Linked DNA regions of Homo sapiens: regions 2 and 3 are each linked to region 1. The links are contacts of gene promoters, found by promoter capture Hi-C in blood cells and fetal thymus (Javierre and others, 2016). All regions are on one chromosome and are shown on one strand. The core of a region is centred on a gene start or on the middle of the fragment in contact, and the rest is flanking DNA. Distances in the headings are between cores, read along the strand shown. Region 1 holds the start of SIM1 (SIM bHLH transcription factor 1). Region 2 has its middle 120 kb from the start of SIM1-AS1. Region 3 has its middle 100 kb from the start of SIM1-AS1.

Region 1 (2,962 bases), core at 307-2,806:
AAGGCGCCCAGAACCAGATCTCTAAGTGGCTACAGCCACTGGGGAAATGACTCCTCCTAGATTAGAGTCCATTAGCTGGATTCCAGTTTTGAAAGACCTACAAAATCTCCGTGCTTCTTTCTTTTTCTTTCTATCCAAAACTTTCACCTCCTCCAGCCAGGTGTTGCCCAGATATGTAAATAACACCAGAAAGCTGCTGTTGTCCTTCTACGACTATCTTACTGCCATCGGGCGGCAAGGAGGTGGCAGATGTCTGTATTTTTGAACAAACACTCTTAAAGTTGTTCTGAATATCAGCAGAATGGCACACACCCCTCTTCAAAGTATTTATTTTCTCAGTGGCAATTAGCGCCACAAACGAGAGGATGAGTGCCCCGTCACTGGTGTTCTCACTGATTTTTATGGTAGATGAAACAACTCCCTCCAAACGCACCTCTAGGAGCCGAATCTGGTCACCGGCGTACCAAAACCAAGCCGGGAGTCGAGTCTGTAGGGGGTGATTCGTGAGGACAACAATTGTTTTTGGGACAATTTGACTTTTTCTTGATGCTACCTGTTGTGTTTTCTCAGATGAGAGAAAGAGAAGGCGGTTCAAATTAGAGGGTCTCTAAAAGATAATTAGTCAGCAAGAGTCCTGGTGAGCGTTTGTTTAAACAGCTCCTATTAGGGAACCGCGAGCATCGTTAAGTTCATTCATGTAGACTGTATCCTTTCTGTAAGGAATAATCATGTTGGACTTTTGTTTCCTGAAACAAAACCCGACAAAGAGTTGGCTAATGTTTAAGATAAAGGACTGTTGGGAGCTATGTATCTCTATATCAATCATTCTATTTTGCCCTGAAATGTAAGCTTTTCCCCTAGTGTCCCCCTAGCTGCTCCCCATAGGAAAACTCCCCGGCCGAGTTTCCACGGTGAAAAAAATCAGCCCCAAACCCAAGCCATTTCGAAAAAGACGCACTTCTTTGGGATTAATTTAAAGACAGTTATTGTATTTATTTCCTCTGGCAATGAATTCCGTGTCGCCATGGTTTCAGAGAAACGAGAAAGAGAAAATAACTCCCCAAACCGGCCTCGCGCACGCCGTCGGCCAGCGACTGCCAGCGGGATGGGCCTTTGGGCGAACCCTGCCTCCTCCGCCGGTAGACCTAACCCGCAGGCCCGACCTCCGCTGCCTCCGGACGTTCCCGGTTCTGCTGGGCCGCCGCGCTGGACTGAGCGCTCAACCACCCGACCCCAGGGAGCTCGAGGAGCGCGGGTCGCGCACGACGTCGGGAAGGCCCAGGAGGCCGCGAGCAGCGGCGGCAACCGGACAGCGCCGACCCGGCACCCTGAGCTCATTAGGAGTCCAGCGGTCCCGCGGGTAGTAAGATTCAGAGCCCGGAGCCTGGGCGCGCGGAGGGCGGCTCGGGGCCGACTCGTGTCACTCAGCCCTATTGGCCAATGAGCGCCTCGCCCCTGGCCGCGCCAGGCCAATGGGAGGCGAGGGGGCTTGTGAGTGGCATTGAGGGAGGGCGGGAGAGAGGCGGCCCCGGAGTGAAGTTGAAGCTAAACCCTTAAGCTATAAAGAAGTTACGGGGGGCAGTTTTCGGCTTCCAATTAGGAATAATAGTGAACTGGCTTCGTAGCAACTACGGAGGACCAGGATTCTAAAATCACCTCACTCGTCCCAAAGCTTGCATCCTCCTCTTTCTGCCACGCACCCCTCCTCCAATTCATGATCCAGAAAAGGGAGCCGGGAATGCTCTGCTCCTCTCTGCCGGTGGGAAGCGGAGAGGCCGGCGGTGTCGCTGGGTTGGACGGTAGGCATGAGAACAGTTAAGAGATGGGCGCCCCCGAAACCTCTGCCGCTTGTGGGGACTGAAGGTAGGTGAAGCAGAAGACGCCCCGCGCCCGCCCAGCAGCCCCGCAGCTCCGCGGTGGTGTGGGAGAGGCCGCGGCGCCTCCCACCCCCGGGGGAGCCTGCGAGGGGCTGTCGCGAGCGCGCCACCTGTTAACCTGGCGCTGCTGGGCCCCGCTTGTTGCAGCCCCTGCTGGGCAGCCAGAGCGCTGGGTCGCCTTGGGAGTCCCGAGAGACTTGGTGTGTAAGTGTCACTTTTTGAGGAATCCCTCAGACTTGAGACCCAAGTTAAAGAGGTAGCCAAGGTCCAGATCTGCCAAGGTAGGGAGCTGAAAGGCCCCTGCCTCGCCTTGGAGGAATTCTGATTTGCGGAAACCTGCTTTCCTGGGACGTGCGCCCGGCCTGGGCGCGGACTCGGGGATCCGCGGCGGAAGATCCCTTGCGGGTCTTCAGAAATATGTATTTTGTTGTTTGGGCAACTTCCCAGGGGTCTGGAGGATGCGGCTGGCATGGGTGAGGGAATGCCAGCATTATTTGCAGGGGGCTGTCTCGCTGCCGATTTACCCGTTTCTTTAAAAACAAACCCAAAACGCCTGGCTAGGCGCACTGAGGCCCTTTCCGGCCGTGTTTTTGGAATTGGGACGAGTGTGTGAGTACTTGTGGAGCCGCTGATCTCTTATGCTCTGATGCTGTTGTCTTCACAGGGCCTTGAAAGAGTTGTCTGGGGTTCCTGCTCTTCCCAAAGGGGCTCGGAGATACCTTAAATGCCGCGAGACTGAAGAGCAAACGTCAGGGATTATTATGTCGATTTTCCGAGGACCAGGGTTCGCAGCTGGCAGTAGAAGAAAAGGCTGGCTCCTCAGGGGTCCCACTGGCATTTGATACCCTGAACGACCCTCAGGATTGCCCAAATTCGGTGGATCGCCCAAATTCGGTGGATCAGCAACTTTCCTATACTGCATCCCGAATTTTCAAAGAACATATTTTCCGTTCACCCCCGCTGGTCTTTTACTGCCATCAATACACTGTTCTTGGTGCAAATACTTCAGCCTCTTTATTCAAAGTATGTTTTATGTTTTTGCCAAATATGATCTCTAATTGAAAGTTTATTTTTGGTTTTGGATG
Region 2 (2,962 bases), core at 315-2,814, 190 kb after region 1:
AGTGACTCTAATTTCATTATATTTTTCAAAGTTCTGTTGCATGCACTTAAGTTAATTTTTAAAATCTTCAGGTAATTAGATTACACAATTGTGTACCATGTACAGTCAAGCATCGCTTAACAATGTGGGTATGTTTTGAGAAATGCCTCCTTAGGTGTTTTGCCATACAAACATTATAGTGTACCTTATAGTGTACCTACACAAATCTAGATGGTATAGCGTACTACACGCTTAGGCTATAGCGTATAGACTATTGCTCCTAGGCTACAAACCTGCACAGCATGTGACTGTACTGAATACTGTAGAAAATTGTAACACCATGGTAAGTATTTGTGTATCTAAACATACAAAATGTAAATAAAAATGTAATATAAAAAATGTTACACCTGTATAGGGCACTTACCATGAATGGAGCTTGCAGGACTGGAAATTGCTCTGAGTGAGCCAGTGAGTGAGTGCTGAGTGAACATGAAGGCATAGGACCTTACTCTACATTACTGTAGACTTTATAAACACTGTACAATCAGGCTATACTAAATTTATTAAAAATGTTATTTCTTCAATAATAATTAACCTGAGCTTACTGTAACAATTTTTCTTTACAAATGTTTTAAATTTTTTTTAACTTTTTGACTCCTATAATACTTAGCTTAAAACCCAAACACATTTCAACTGTGCAAAAATATTTTTTTCTTTATATCCTATAAAAAGCTTTATATTTTATAAGCTTTTTTCTATTTTTAATAAAACACACAATTAGCCTAGGCCTGCACAGGGTCAAGATCATTAATAACACTGTCTTCTACCTCCACATCTTGTCCCACTGGAAGGTCTTCAGAGTTAACTAACACACATAGAGCTGTCATCTCCTATGATAAGAAAGACTTCTTCTGGAATATCTCCTGAAGGACCAGCCTGAGGCTGTTTTACAGTTCATTCTTTTTGTTTTCCAAGTAGAAGGAGTACACTTTAAAATAATGACAAATGGATAATATAGTAAATACATAAATTAGTAACATAGTTGTTTATTATTATGATCAAGTATTATGTACTACACAAAATTGTATGTGCTAGACTTTTATATGACTGTCAGGGCAGTAGATTTGTTTACACCAGCGTCCTCTAGTGAGTTACACTCACAATAAGTGTGCTACAGTGTTATAATGGCTATGAGGTCACTAAGAGATAGGAATTTTTCGGCTCCATTATAATCTTTTTTTTTTATTATACTTTAAGTTCTAGGGTACATGTGCACAATGTGCAGCTTTGTTATATATGTATACATGTGCCATGTTAGCGTGCTGCACCCATTAACTCGTCATTTACATTAGGTATTTCTCCTAATGCTATCCCTCTCCCCTCCCCCTACCCCACGGCAGGTCCTGGTGTGTGATGTTCCCCACTCTGTGTCCAAGTGTTCTCATTGTTCAATTCCCACCTATGAGTGAGAACATGCGGTGTTTGGTTTTCTGTCCTTGCGATAGTGTGCTCAGAATGATGGTTTCCAGCTTCATCCATTTCCCTACAAAGGACATGAACTCATCCTTTTTTAAGCTCCATTGTAATCTTAAGGGACTACTACTGTATACACGGTCTATCGTTGACTAAAATGTTATTATGCAGTATATGACTGTACTTTTTTTTAAGATCTTATGACTAATTCAAATTAAAAGAAAAAATGAAATAATTAAATGAAAATAACTTTTAAAACTTTTTTTTAACTAGAAAAATAAGGTGGATTGGTTACTGGCTGCCCCTGCAAGTCCTCAAGAGCCCATTTAACTGGGGAGTATTTGTGGAGTGTTATGGTGAAGATTTAATTATTAGAATACTATACATTCATATTGTAGTTTTTGCAGAGCTTTTCCAGGATTTCTCATTTATTTGTACATCAAGATTTCAGTGTAGGTAGGATATTGACTTGTTATTACTGCTGAGAAATTGAGATTCAGAGATTCAGAGTTACTTAAGATATCAGAAATTAGAGGTAAGAGCTGGGATGAGCACCCAGTTTTCTGTTTACTGTTTTGTTTTTTAAATAACAATAAACAAACTGAATTTTAAAAACAGACAAATAAATACGTGTGTTTATACATCTCCCCCATTCCACCCCAGAGCCTAAAAAATGGTGAGGATGGCTTCAGAATCCCAGAATTATGATTTTTAAAAATAAATGTATGGAAAAAAAAATCCACAAATTTGACCAGAATGAATTTCTCTGAGTCTTCAGACGCTTTCCTTTTGCTTAAGAACTGACATTCACAATCTGGTAACTGTGGACGGGTGAGTGCCTCTGTCTCCATCTCTTTGGTACTTTCACCTAGAAATGACCTAGGCCCTGTGCAGCAGTCACCTTAAAAGCTCACTTCAAATTCATTATATGGAATTCAGACAAGCTTGCATGTCAGGGTAACTGGTAGGCCCATGGGTGTTAACCTCATGTCTCTGTTCTGGGAAGATACTGTGGCTGATGACAGACTTTATCTTTCCAGTGGTTCAAGTGTAAAATAGCTAAGAGCCTTCTTGCAAATAGCCCAAGTTCCAATACTTCGACTTCTCAGAGGAGACAATTAAAAGTGGAGATAAATGCTCATAAAATTTCCCCCCCAAAATAAGGAAATTCTTTTGCAGGAAAAGAAAGTTTAAAATTACATGGACCCTTTCAATACCATACTTTTGAGGGAATGAACAAGGTTAATGTTGGTGGTTAATCATGGTTACAAGAGCTAGTGTCACCCTGTCAGGCTGGAGTGTACTACCTTGTGGCTACCTTGCTTGGCTAATTTTTTGTAGAGACGAGGCCTCGTTTTTTATATCTGGACTAGTATTGAACTCCTGGCCACAAACAAGTATCCCAACTCGGCCTCCGAAAGTGCTGGGATTGAAGACATGAATCACTGGGTCCTATTTTTTTTTATAGCACTTATTACTTTCTTGCATATTTATAATTCACTTTACTTAT
Region 3 (2,962 bases), core at 282-2,781, 180 kb after region 1:
TACTAACATTGTTACTAGCAGAAAAAGCCTCTGTGTTTTGCTATTTATAAAGCACTTTCATTTGCCTTATCTCATGTAATACAACTATCTGCATGTGATATGGAATTAGTGAGATTATTTGCAAAAATCATATTTTATTTACAAAAAAAGCAAATTTCACATTGTGCTTTGTTAATCAGGTTATGTATTCAGGCACTTAGTAAAACTTTTAGCAAAACAAATAAAGATCAAAAAGCTAAAAAATACTTCTCTAATACTATTAGAAAAATCAGAGTAGAATTTTTTATAAGCTTAGTATGGGGAGGATTTTTCTCAGTAAGAAATGAGATTTAGAAACCATAAAAAAAACCTGGCAGTTTTTATTACTTAAAAATTAAAAACTTCTGTATGGGAAAGGCAGCAATACATACACATTTAAAAAACAACTGTGAGAAAATATTTCTTTCTGTCTCTCTCTTTTTTTCTCTCTCTCTTTTCTTTCTTCCTCTCTTCCTTCTCTCTTTCTTTCTCTTTCTTTTTCTTTCTCTATTTGATGACAGATGATAAATCTATCATCTATCTACCTATAAATTTATCTATGCTTCTATTTATCTAATCTGTATCTCAGATTAACAAAAATAATAAATTAACAAAAGTGTTAGCCAAGTAATTAGAGTATTAACAAAAATAATAAATCCAGAGTTACTAGCAATACAGAAGAAATAATTAAGCCACCCAGATCATGGGAAAGGAGATGAAGTGGCAAGTCACTGAATAAGAATAAGTAAGCTACAAACAATTGAAAAAGTATTTAATCTCAATAGCAATCATTCAAATTAAAATAATAATAATGTACTTTTAATTTTTTTCTATCAAATAAACAAAAGTTTAAAAGCTTGATGATACTGAGTATTGGCTAGTATTTGGGCAAACAAGGGGTCATACATTGTTTCAAGGAATATAAATCGGCACAAACTCTTTACAAGGCAATTTGACAGTATTTGTAAAGATAAAAATACACATATCCTTCCATCTGTAATTGTAGTTTTAGGAATTTATCACACAGAATGATTCCCTGTAAGTGTTCTGAGATGTCTATACGGCATGCAGCATTCAGCATTGTCAGCAAAACACTAAAACAACTGACATGCCTGTCAGTAGCAGACTGGGTACACTATGATTCAGCTATTATACAAATAATACAGCTGTATCTACATTCACCAACATGAAGAGATATCTACAATATAGTGAGTGAAAGCATACAAACTATAGAAAAACATTCAATTTTTAAAAATTAGAAAATATTTCTATATGCATATATGTATTTAAAATACCTTAAAAATATAAGAAGCATCCAAAAAGAAAAACATGATAAACATGATGAACTCTGGATAGTGGGATTAGGGAGGAACAATTTTTAATCTTATACTCTTCTAATAATTTTCATTATTTTTAACAACAAAGATTCTGCTTTTTCATTGTATGCCCCTAGTGAGAATGCTGTTTTATTAGACTGACCCTCAGCATGCAAACTTGTATACCATATAAGTTTCATGTCATAGACATCCAATTATTTTTTTAATGAAAAGTCTTTGGGGGAAGGACTGGTGGGGGGGAAATGTTGACTTGGGGAATCACTGGGACCTATGGGGACATTGTCCTATAGAATCAGAAATGGGACTCTGAATTTCTAGAGTGGGATTCAGGCTTGAGAGGTATATGAGGGAGCTACTCCTACATGGATAGTTGTAAGAAATGAACAGAAATAAAGGGAACCTTAAATATCTAAAAGTTTAAGAGCTCAACATGGACATAATTTATTTCTTAGACACTTCATCTAAAAGTATTTAGAAGGAGTTGATATAGACAATATATAATATGTTAGTACCAGCATTATTCCTGCCTAAAGTAGGCAAAGGCCTCTGTCCCACTACATGGGCAACGCCCGCTGTCTGAGATTTAAGAGCTAGTTTGATTATATAAGATATTGTAAAAGTCATCCTCTTTTCTAAAGAACAACTAAAGCATTTTAAAATATAGCTTACTATTGCCTGAACTCATCTCTACTGTGGATTAAATTATTACTCTTCAAATATCACTACATACAATAAAAGCCAAATAAGCTCTGAGTCATGCATATCAACATGTTTTATAAAGCACATCAGACACTATTATGTTATGTGTTCCCTGGATTCTCAACAAAGCTTTGAGGGATTCGTATTATTTTATGCCCATTTTACAAATAAGAAAACTGTATGCTGTCTAAGGCTACATAAGTAATAATACGGCCAGGGTTTGAACCCAATGTTTTAGGGAAGCAATTTGGTATAGCAGAAAAGGCCTAGACTTCTAGGCAGAAAGAAATGAAAAATTTGCTTGATGACAACAAAATAAGCTGTGTAACTAAGAAAGAACCACTTCTGCTGTTGTAGGTTGTAAGATCAGGTAACAATACTGCTATATTGGTACCTCATCATTCTGTAACTGTGAATTGGCCAGGTAATATATACTGTCCTTTATGGATGAATCCAAGAATATTTTCTCAGATAACCTTTATAGCATGTCTTGAGACAGAGTCATAAGAAATCCTGGCCACAAAGCCAGTTACTTTCCTGCTTAACAAACTTAATACATCCGTGGAATTTACTGTTGTACTCTGCCACTGAGGCAGTCCTAACGTAGGAACACATGCAGAGATGATAAATTTGTGAGTGTGTCTGGTAGAAGAGCTGAAACAGATGTGCAGAGTGAAGGACATCAAAGTTAAAACAATTACCATCTCAACAAATGGGTAGTTCTTCCAGATACAGGCTTAGCATTTTTAAAAGACCTGGGAACCCATTATATCATACTGGCAAATCAGAGGTGGTATATTTGGATGTGAAGCATTTGTAAATCACTAAACCAAACCAAAACAAAGATGAGTGGCCATTAGTTGTTTTAAAAGATACTATCATTCAGCAGCAAATGTCATGGCATATAT

Evidence for each region. The method cuts DNA at HindIII sites, captures the fragments that hold promoters and counts their contacts. A CHiCAGO score of 5 or more calls a contact.
Region 2: a fragment that was not itself captured here is called in contact with the fragment with the promoter of SIM1 in region 1 in 1 of 17 cell types (endothelial precursors); the score reaches 7.0 in endothelial precursors.
Region 3: a fragment that was not itself captured here is called in contact with the fragment with the promoter of SIM1 in region 1 in 1 of 17 cell types (endothelial precursors); the score reaches 8.2 in endothelial precursors.

What each region holds. Positions count from the first base shown.
Region 1 is chr6:100,463,515-100,466,476 of GRCh38, reverse strand. It overlaps SIM1 (SIM bHLH transcription factor 1), which reads left to right and starts at 1,556. Exons shown (of 12, transcript NM_005068.3): 1 at 1,556-1,863; 2 at 2,542-2,962. The HindIII fragment of the contact is 823 bases long and covers 852-1,674 here.
Region 2 is chr6:100,271,306-100,274,267 of GRCh38, reverse strand. No RefSeq gene overlaps it. Among named protein-coding and RNA genes, the nearest start is that of SIM1-AS1, 120 kb to the left of the region's middle. The HindIII fragment of the contact is 1,669 bases long and covers 730-2,398 here.
Region 3 is chr6:100,287,638-100,290,599 of GRCh38, reverse strand. No RefSeq gene overlaps it. Among named protein-coding and RNA genes, the nearest start is that of SIM1-AS1, 100 kb to the left of the region's middle. The HindIII fragment of the contact is 1,309 bases long and covers 877-2,185 here.